Regions from separate parts of the Homo sapiens genome. Here region 2 is linked to region 1. Evidence: promoter capture Hi-C in 16 types of primary human blood cells and fetal thymus (Javierre and others, 2016). All regions are on one chromosome and are shown on one strand. The core of a region is centred on a gene start or on the middle of the fragment in contact, and the rest is flanking DNA. Distances in the headings are between cores, read along the strand shown.

What was found. Contacts are between HindIII fragments. The CHiCAGO score rates a contact against its expected background, and 5 or more counts as called.
Region 2: the fragment with the promoter of H2BC21 here is called in contact with the fragment with the promoter of PLEKHO1 in region 1 in 3 of 17 cell types (M2 macrophages, M0 macrophages and M1 macrophages); the score reaches 10.7 in M2 macrophages.

Annotation. Positions count from the first base shown.
Region 1 is chr1:150,148,200-150,152,542 of GRCh38, forward strand. PLEKHO1 (pleckstrin homology domain containing O1) reads left to right here and starts at 1,717. Exons shown (of 6, transcript NM_016274.6): 1 at 1,717-2,088; 2 at 2,713-2,859. The coding sequence starts at 2,059. RefSeq lists silencers at 1,345-1,804, 1,945-2,024 and an enhancer at 1,657-2,157. The HindIII fragment of the contact is 16,730 bases long and covers 1-4,343 here.
Region 2 is chr1:149,884,915-149,889,257 of GRCh38, forward strand. H2BC21 (H2B clustered histone 21) reads right to left here and starts at 1,768. Exons shown (of 1, transcript NM_003528.3): 1 at 1-1,768. The coding sequence starts at 1,726. The coding sequence ends at 1,346. It overlaps H2AC20 (H2A clustered histone 20), which reads left to right and starts at 2,004. Exons shown (of 1, transcript NM_003517.3): 1 at 2,004-2,497. The coding sequence starts at 2,061. The coding sequence ends at 2,450. It overlaps H2AC21 (H2A clustered histone 21), which reads right to left and starts at 3,051. Exons shown (of 1, transcript NM_175065.3): 1 at 2,555-3,051. The coding sequence starts at 3,002. The coding sequence ends at 2,610. RefSeq lists enhancers at 371-964, 742-821, 1,232-1,321, 1,392-1,681, 2,002-2,071 and 6 more. The HindIII fragment of the contact is 10,069 bases long and covers 1-1,970 here.

The sequences.
Region 1 (4,343 bases), core at 467-2,966:
ACTGCAGTCAGGAAGCCTGGATTCTAATCCATTTAGCCAGTAACTTGATGTATAAACTTGGGCAAGTCAGTTTATCTGGCATGCCCTGTTTCCTCATTTTCCAAATGGAAATATTAATACTCTATATACCTTACAAGGTGGCATTAAAAGTGTAAAGAAATGACATATAAGAGCATTTTGAAAGGATAAAGTTCTGTGTCAGTCTAAAATCGTGGAATTAATTGGTATGGTGAATGGAAAGAAGTTGAGAGGAATATCATTGGATTAGGAGGAAAGGTGGAACTGGAAAAGAGAGGGAGCCCCTCCTTCATTTGACAGACACCAGAAAAAGTCAAAAGAGCCTCCACTATTCAAACCACAAATCTAGCCAACACTTTTATCTTGAGACATCTCTGGAAAAATGATTTTTCCTTTTCCCTGCTCCTCAGTGCCAGGGATTTTTATTCATTTTGTGGTTACTGCATGCTTGCCATATGCCAGGCAATGTGTTTATTAGCTTATTATGATTTCAAAATTAGCCCTGGAAGACAACACATATCTTCAAAGGACTCTCAGAGGTCATCTCATATCTTCCCCTAGCTTTCCTTGTTGATAAAAATGGCAGTTCATCCCTCACCACTTAATACGTGGAGGGACGCGGGCCTAAAGAAATTCAGTGACTTGACCAAAGCCCAGAGTGGTGATGAAACCAGTACCCAAGCGCGGGGTTTCTCACTCCCCTTTTCCATCACACGTATATATATTAAAAAGACATGAAGTTACTAAGATGTGTCCTGGAGGCTCTGAGGCAGATCTGCTGTAGGAGGGATCAGCAGAGGCTTCTCTAGTCAGGGCATTCTCTGGGCGTTCAGCCCTTCCCTCCACTGGGCTCCAGCGCTGTAGAGAGGGTGGGGTTTTTACCTATCAGTATAGCGGGAAAAGATACCCAGGTGGCAGGAAGTTTAAGCCTCACCTGGAACTTATATTGAAAGCCACTTGGTAGAAAGGATAATGGTTTGGAGACAGAGTTCTATTCCTGCCAGCATTGACACTGTGTCTGAAAAGCCAGCATCGACACTGTGTCTGCAAATCCCTCAGCTATTCTGAGTCTCCGTTTTCTCCCTGTGAGATGGAGATCATAAAATCCGCCTCATCCTTAGGATTATTCTCCTGAAGCTACAATAAGGCCTGAGGCATTGTACGCTGGAAGAAACGTGTATTAATAGCAACTTCTGTCCCACCCCATCCCCCAACACGTCGATCCCCTCCGGAGCATAAAACTTTCCCCCAGCATCTGACCTGCCCAGGCCACCCTAGCACCTAGGAGCGTGAATTCCTGATGCGGGTTGTGGGTGGCGCGCCCTCCCGGTTCCCGCTCTCGTTTTTGTTTTTGGTCGGGTAAGGCGATGCTGTAGAGGCTGGCGATCTCCAGTCTTCACGAATCCGCACGTCTCTCCATTATCCACCGCGCCCGCCCACTGGGCCCCGGGGCGGCCGGCGGCCGGGTCTCTCGGGCTCCGCGTGTCGCCCGAGCCGCCGCCGGAGCGAGGGTCCCTGCCCCCTGGGGAGCGGTCTCCAGCCGCTTCGAAGCCGCCTTCTTCCCCCTCCGTGAGTCAGAAACAAAGGCGGGGGGGCGGGGGGAGCGCCCGAGCTGCGGCTCCGCGATTCGCCCTTTATTCTGAACTCGCAACGTCAGCGGCCCGCGGATGGAGCTGCGGGGTGCGGACTGGGCCGCCCACAGCGCACCGGGCCGGGGGAGCGGCCGCGCTGGGCCGGGCGGGCGGGTGGCGGGGGTGCGCTCGGGGACCCGGGCCGCGTGGGCGCCGGGATGGAGGGCGCCAAGGGGCGGGGAGCGGGCGTGCGTGTGTGTGCGAGTGCGAATGCGAGGGAGGCCGGCCTTGAGTGAAACCGGAGCTACAAAGAAGGGGAGAGTCCGGGAGCGGGAGGGCGCGAGGGAGGAGCGGCGGCGCCGGGGCAGCTCCGACGCCCTCCCGCGGGGAAGGAGCCCCCGCGGTGCCGCCGAGGCCCCGACGCGGGGCCGCCCCTCGGCTCGCCGCCCCGCGCCCGCGCCCGCTGGGAATGATGAAGAAGAACAATTCCGCCAAGCGGGTGAGTGCGCTTGCCCGCCCTGCGGCCGCCGCCGCCTCCGCGCTCTGACGACCCCCGCTCCGTCGGCGCCGCGGCGGCCTGGGAGACCCACGGCCCGGCCGCGCCCCCGCCCCGGCGGCCCGGTCCCCTCGGCCTCGGCCCCGCCAGGCGCCCGCGGGGGCTTTTGTTTGTTTACTCGCCTCGGGGGGCTTCAACTTGGCTGAGTTTCCCCACGACCCGCACCTCCCCCGCCCCCGGGCGCCGGGCGAGCGTTTGCCTCGCGCTCCGCCGTGGCGAGGAGACAATGGGAGAGAAAACCAGAGAAACGCCGTTAGTCCCCGCGCGGCGAGGACGGGGCGGCGGGGGCGCAGGGCCTGGAGGGAACCTGGGAGCCTCTCCGCGCCCGGCCGGCGCCCCTGCCACTTGCAGCCCCGGTTGTTTATTCGGGAGCGGGGGAGGGGAGCGGGGGGAGTTCCTCGGAGTGAAAACCTTTCCGAAGTGGGAGCGAACCTGGGGCGGCCCCCCGCCCCCCGGCCGCAGCCTTCGGAGGAGACTGGGCCGCCGAGGCGGTCGTGAGAGACGGACGGAGAGGAAGCGCCGGCTGGAATCTCCTAACCGCCCGCTTCTCATCTTGTCCTGGGGCAGGGACCTCAGGATGGAAACCAGCAGCCTGCACCGCCCGAGAAGGTCGGCTGGGTCCGGAAATTCTGCGGGAAAGGGATTTTCAGGGAGATTTGGAAAAACCGCTATGTGGTGCTGAAAGGGGACCAGCTCTACATCTCTGAGAAGGAGGTGGGTGCCTCTTGCCTCTAACTCTCCGTTTTCTCATAGCCCCCACTTTGTCACTCCCCAAGGGCTCGCCTAGCTTACTCCACCCCCGTTTTGTTCCAAAGGCAAGTTCAGTGGTCTCCTCTCTACCCCCATCTCATCTGCAGAGAAAGGCCACCCTTTAATGAGAAGACCAGAGTGAGAATTAGAAGTTGAGTTGGCCGCTTACTCAGTGTTTTTTTGTTTGCAAATACCTTTCTAACAACGATAAGCCCCTCCCAAGATGCCCCAGAAGTTCTAAGTGTCCCTTGCTGCCTCCCACCCTAACCTGGCCTCCTGCATATAGGATTTCTTTTCTATTTCTGCTGAAACAGTTTAGCCTATTCGCCACCCCTTCCTGTCCCCCCACCTTAACCCAGCCAGCCTCCCCTTTCCTGTCTGTGGCAGGAGCGTGCACAGGTCCTGTCCGTGGCGCATCCGCCCTGAATCACAGAAAACACGCACCCCGCCGTCAGGCCCCTGTGACCTCGGGTGTGTGAGTGGCAGTTATTTTCGTTGAAGCCAGTGTCCCTAACCAGTATGCTCTCTGTTCCCCACCCCCACCCCATTTAAAAAAGGCAAGGAACCCATTTTCTACCCACTTCCTGCCCACCCCTCCATTTGTATCAGAAGGGAGAGAAATGGAGTTAAGAACCCCTGTATGTCTTTGGATAGCTTTGGCTGTGTAGTTAACCATGAAAACCACAGTCTACACTGTGTCAAGACCTGAGCTATGATAATTGAATCCAGACCCATCTCCCTTTTTTCCCTAAGTCTTGGGATCAATAACGTGTACTAATGTGGAGAAATCAGAATTGCCCCTACAGTGGTTAGAAGTCATTCCATTCCCTGCCTCTGTGACTGTCCAAAGGCAGTCAGTATAGCCTGGAAGACTGTCCTGTGTACCGGTTAGAGTGGCCCTTCCTCCCGCCCTCACGGGAGGTATTCTGTGTTCCCTCACCCAGGGCTAACTGGGAAGTCCTCCCTGAGTTCTAACCTCTTCTGCTTTCTGCAGTAGACATCCTTATTCAGTAGATTATATTTAGGTAAATAAAACCTTTTATGGTATTGAAACATACACACACACACCCTGAGACAAAGTACTCATCTAAAAGAACATCTACTGAGGCATCTAGGGAAGAACTAAGCTGTGCCACAGCCAAAGAGATCCCTCTTAAGGGTATTGAAACCTAGCTGTTTACACAAAACTAGCAAGTTGGTGATGGAAAGTCTTAGGAGTGAGGTGAGGGCACTTTTCTTGGTCTGTCATCCAGGCAGGAATGCAGTGGCTCAATCACAGCTCACTTCAGCTTCCACCTCCCAGGCTCAAGTGATCCTCCCACCTCATCCTTGGAGTAGCTGGGACTACAGGTGGGTGCCACCATGTCTGGCTAGTTTTTGTATTTTTTGTAGAGACAGTGTTTCGCGTTGTTGACCAGGCTGCTCTCAAAACTCCTGGCCTCAAGTGA
Region 2 (4,343 bases), core at 518-3,017, 260 kb before region 1:
CCATGAGGGGAGAGTAAGAAAAGGAGAAGGAAAAGGCTCTTTCCAGTGACCAACACGCTGAATTTGATGAAAATCCATAAGAGGTTATGCTAAACTGAGAAGCATAAGGGTGGATCTACCATTGCCACCTCCTCTTTGTAGCAAAAAAAATCTTAACACGGCCCCCTCCCAGCTGTTGCACTGAGGTGACTAAGGATACATTTTGAGGAAGTAGCTCCAAGAACATTTCCATTTTCACTGTGCCTTCACATACATCTAATGGAAATGAACAGCACCCTTCATCCATCCACGGAAGCGATTAAGAAAAGGGTGGGATGGAAAAATTAACCCAACAATATTAGATCAATACGTAGTATTTAAGTGTCCATAATGTGCCAGGCTGAAGATGCACGGGAAAACCACACTAGCCGGTCTGTCAAGGGCTTGAGAATACCATAAACAAGAAAACAGACGAACCAATTTCAGACAGCTGCTAGAAGGAAGATAAAATGAGACAGGCAAGTATGAGAGGCGCGAATTCCTGAGTGGATGACGTAGGTCTCTGAGAGGTGACTTTTGAGCCCGTATCTACATGGTAAGTGCCTCGCAGTGACCTGGGGCCGTAGCGTTACCATTTAAAGCACAGACCATTAAATGCAGAAATTATCAACAAAATGAGAAATAGGAATTTCAAAGTCTCAAAGTGAACGACGGAAACTGAAATCTACAAATTAGAAAAAGGCGCAGAATTTTGAATATTCTTGTCGCCCAATCAGGACAAGGCTGGGACCCGGCTGCGCGGCCTTCGTCCAAAATACACAGAACGGCTGGTATCCACAGGAGGCCCCATCGCACGGCAGAACTGGTGACCGGACACAAAAGCTGCTGCCAAGCGTCAGTCATACAGAGCTGTCACGCAGTGTTTGCGGAACCCGGGCTGAATTGTGTCCTGGAGTTCTCTTAAATGACAGCCGAACTCAGCCACTTCGTTTTAGAATGAAACAGACCCAAGGAGCCACCAGGGCGCGTGTGGGGCGGGAGTGGGGGCGGGTAAAGAGGCGGATTCCCAACAGCCTAATTGAGAACCGACTCCTGGGAAGGCTAAGCAGCACAATGAGTAAAGACACGCTCTAGATTCAAAAGCAAATCCAATGACGCACTGGGGACCTCGAGTTCCAAATAGTTAAAAAGCTACGTATGCCATTTCCCATGACCTTCACACTAAAATAACTTACTTTATGAAAAGAAACTAAGGGAATAAGTGAACAAGCTCTTTTCTAGTGATTAGGTGGGTGGCTCTGAAAAGAGCCTTTGGAGTCAAGCAGCCGGCGACTCGAGCGAGCGAGCGCCAGGTCCCGGCAGGGACTCACTTGGAGCTGGTGTACTTGGTGACCGCCTTGGTGCCCTCGGACACGGCGTGCTTGGCCAGCTCGCCGGGCAGCAGCAGGCGCACGGCCGTCTGGATCTCGCGGGATGTGATGGTGGAGCGCTTGTTGTAGTGCGCCAGGCGGGAAGCCTCTCCCGCGATGCGCTCGAAGATGTCGTTGACGAAGGAGTTCATGATGCCCATGGCCTTGGACGAGATGCCGGTGTCGGGGTGGACCTGCTTCAGCACCTTGTACACGTAGATGGAGTAGCTCTCTTTGCGGCTGCGCTTGCGCTTCTTGCCGTCTTTCTTCTGGGCTTTGGTGACGGCTTTCTTGGAGCCCTTTTTAGGGGCCGGAGCGGATTTTGCCGGTTCAGGCATGGTAAGACACAGTACAAACGCGGCTTAGCCAAGAAAAGAAGTAAGAGAATGGGCGGGCCTGATTCTTTTATAACCACCTTATGCAAATTAGGGCTCCGAAAGTCGTTCATTTCCATTGGTCCGTGTGCGGACCTTGCGTTTTCAGCAATGCGTACGTAACAACACCGACTCTTGACTTGATTGGCCGGTTCTGAAGCCATATTAGGACCAATGAAAAACTCGTTCTTGACCCCACCCCTAGGAAAGCTTATAAAGGCTTTCCTCTTGGTTCTCTTTCAATCTTATTTTGTTGCGAGGTTCTGAGCGTTGTCTGTGTTTAACCTTGATTTCAGTCATGTCTGGTCGTGGCAAACAAGGAGGCAAGGCCCGCGCCAAGGCCAAGTCGCGCTCGTCCCGCGCTGGCCTCCAGTTCCCGGTAGGGCGAGTGCACCGCTTGCTGCGCAAAGGCAACTACGCGGAGCGGGTGGGGGCCGGCGCGCCCGTCTACATGGCGGCGGTCCTCGAGTACCTGACCGCCGAGATCCTGGAGCTGGCGGGCAACGCGGCTCGGGACAACAAGAAGACGCGCATCATCCCTCGTCACCTCCAGCTGGCCATCCGCAACGACGAGGAACTGAACAAGCTGCTGGGCAAAGTCACCATCGCCCAGGGCGGCGTTTTGCCTAACATCCAGGCCGTTCTGTTACCAAAGAAAACCGAAAGCCACAAAGCCAAAAGCAAATAAATGCAGACAAACAAACCAAGACCAAAGGCTCTTTTTAGAGCCACCCAAGTTTTCAAAAAAAGAGCTAATGCGCTATTTCGTGATCAGCCCTTCATTTGACACTTTGGTGGCTCTTAAAAGAGCCTTTGGGGTGAATGAGTATGGTGTCAAGCCTCTTAATTACTTGTTCTTGCCAGGCTTGTGACTCTCCGTTTTCTTGGGCAACAGGACAGCCTGGATATTGGGCAAGACGCCGCCCTGGGCAATGGTGACACCCCCGAGTAACTTGTTGAGCTCTTCGTCATTCCTCACGGCTAGTTGCAGATGGCGAGGGATGATGCGCGTCTTCTTGTTGTCCCGAGCCGCGTTGCCCGCCAGCTCCAGAATTTCCGCGGTCAGGTACTCGAGGACCGCCGCCAGGTACACCGGGGCGCCTGCCCCGACCCGCTCCGCGTAGTTGCCTTTGCGCAGCAAGCGGTGCACTCGCCCCACCGGGAACTGGAGACCAGCGCGGGACGAGCGCGACTTGGCCTTAGCGCGGGCCTTGCCTCCCTGCTTTCCGCGTCCTGACATTACGGCTAAAATTGCAGTTACAGCTTCTTTTACAAGGAGAAGAATGTGGAAAGAATAACCAATTTGATGTAATTTATAAGAGCTACCGGGAGGGGTGAAGGGAAGTCGTTTGATTGGCTAAAAGCGGAGCCGTATCTAACAGCCAATAGAAAAGCAGAAAGCCGCCTCTTGGTTTGCGTCCTGCACTGAAAGGAAATGACGGATTTTGTAAGTATCTACCAATCGCTGAGAGCCACATTAAAGCCCCTTATTTGCATGCCAGGATCTTTAAAGAGAGCAGGCTTTCAAACAAAATACTGGTTTTGTTTTACTGAGAGGCACTGTGGGTTTTTGTTTTGTTTTGCTTTGCTTTGTTTAGTTTACAGCCGGGAAATCCCAATATGGACCCTAAGGAACTGCAGAAGACATCCTTAGACGGAGAGTTACTCTCACGAAAGAGTAGGGGATTCTGAAGCCGATGATCCCCTTGAGCTCTAAACTGCCAAGTCCCGCCCTTTCTGTCTCGTCACAGCCAAATTCCCTTTAAAAATACATGTACTACTAAGGCTGCCTCCTTTCTCGCCCCTAAACTTAAGTCGCCCGCAGCGGCGTGTCTCCGCCCCACCCCCACCCGCCTGCACTCCTCGGAATCCGGTTTGACCGAGGCTAGAATAGATTTGTCATCCTCCTCTTGACCTCCAGGAGGCGGCCTTCAAACTTGCTCCCTTGGCTTTCAAAATGTCGCCCTGTTTTTCTTCTTACCTCGCCGACTTTTCTTATCCTGCTCCCCCATGCCACTGCCCATCTCTAAATCTGCGAGTCCAGCTGGACTGTTTCCCTGTCTCCAATTCTTCACTTATCCCGAAGAGTCTTACCCATTTATATGCTTTCAACTAACGTCCAAATTTGTTTCAGAAGCTCAGACCCTTATGCCTAACTGCTTACAGAATACTTCAACCTACTTATCCCAACGAGCACCTCAAACTCAAACTCTACCTCAGCCTATCCGAACGCGAACTCATACAAACAACCTCCCCTCTTTGCCCTCTTTTCCTGAAATGCACCAGCATACTTACAGATACCTAAGCCGAAATCTACTCTACTCTTCCCTTCGTCTTAGCATATCCAGTCAGTTGCTTCCTTAACATCCCTTCAGACTTTTTCTCCATGCTCCCTTGTCCACCTCATCATCATCCCTTAGATTTCAGCAACAGCCGGGAAAGGGTAATTTTGCCGTCAGGCACTAATCGCTGGCATGACTCCAGCGGTCTTAGAAATCTTTCCTGAAAGCTCTCCTTTTTTTCTTTTATCCCATATAACAGATGAACCTGAAAGCTCTTGTGTTTCTTCCTCCTCAACGTC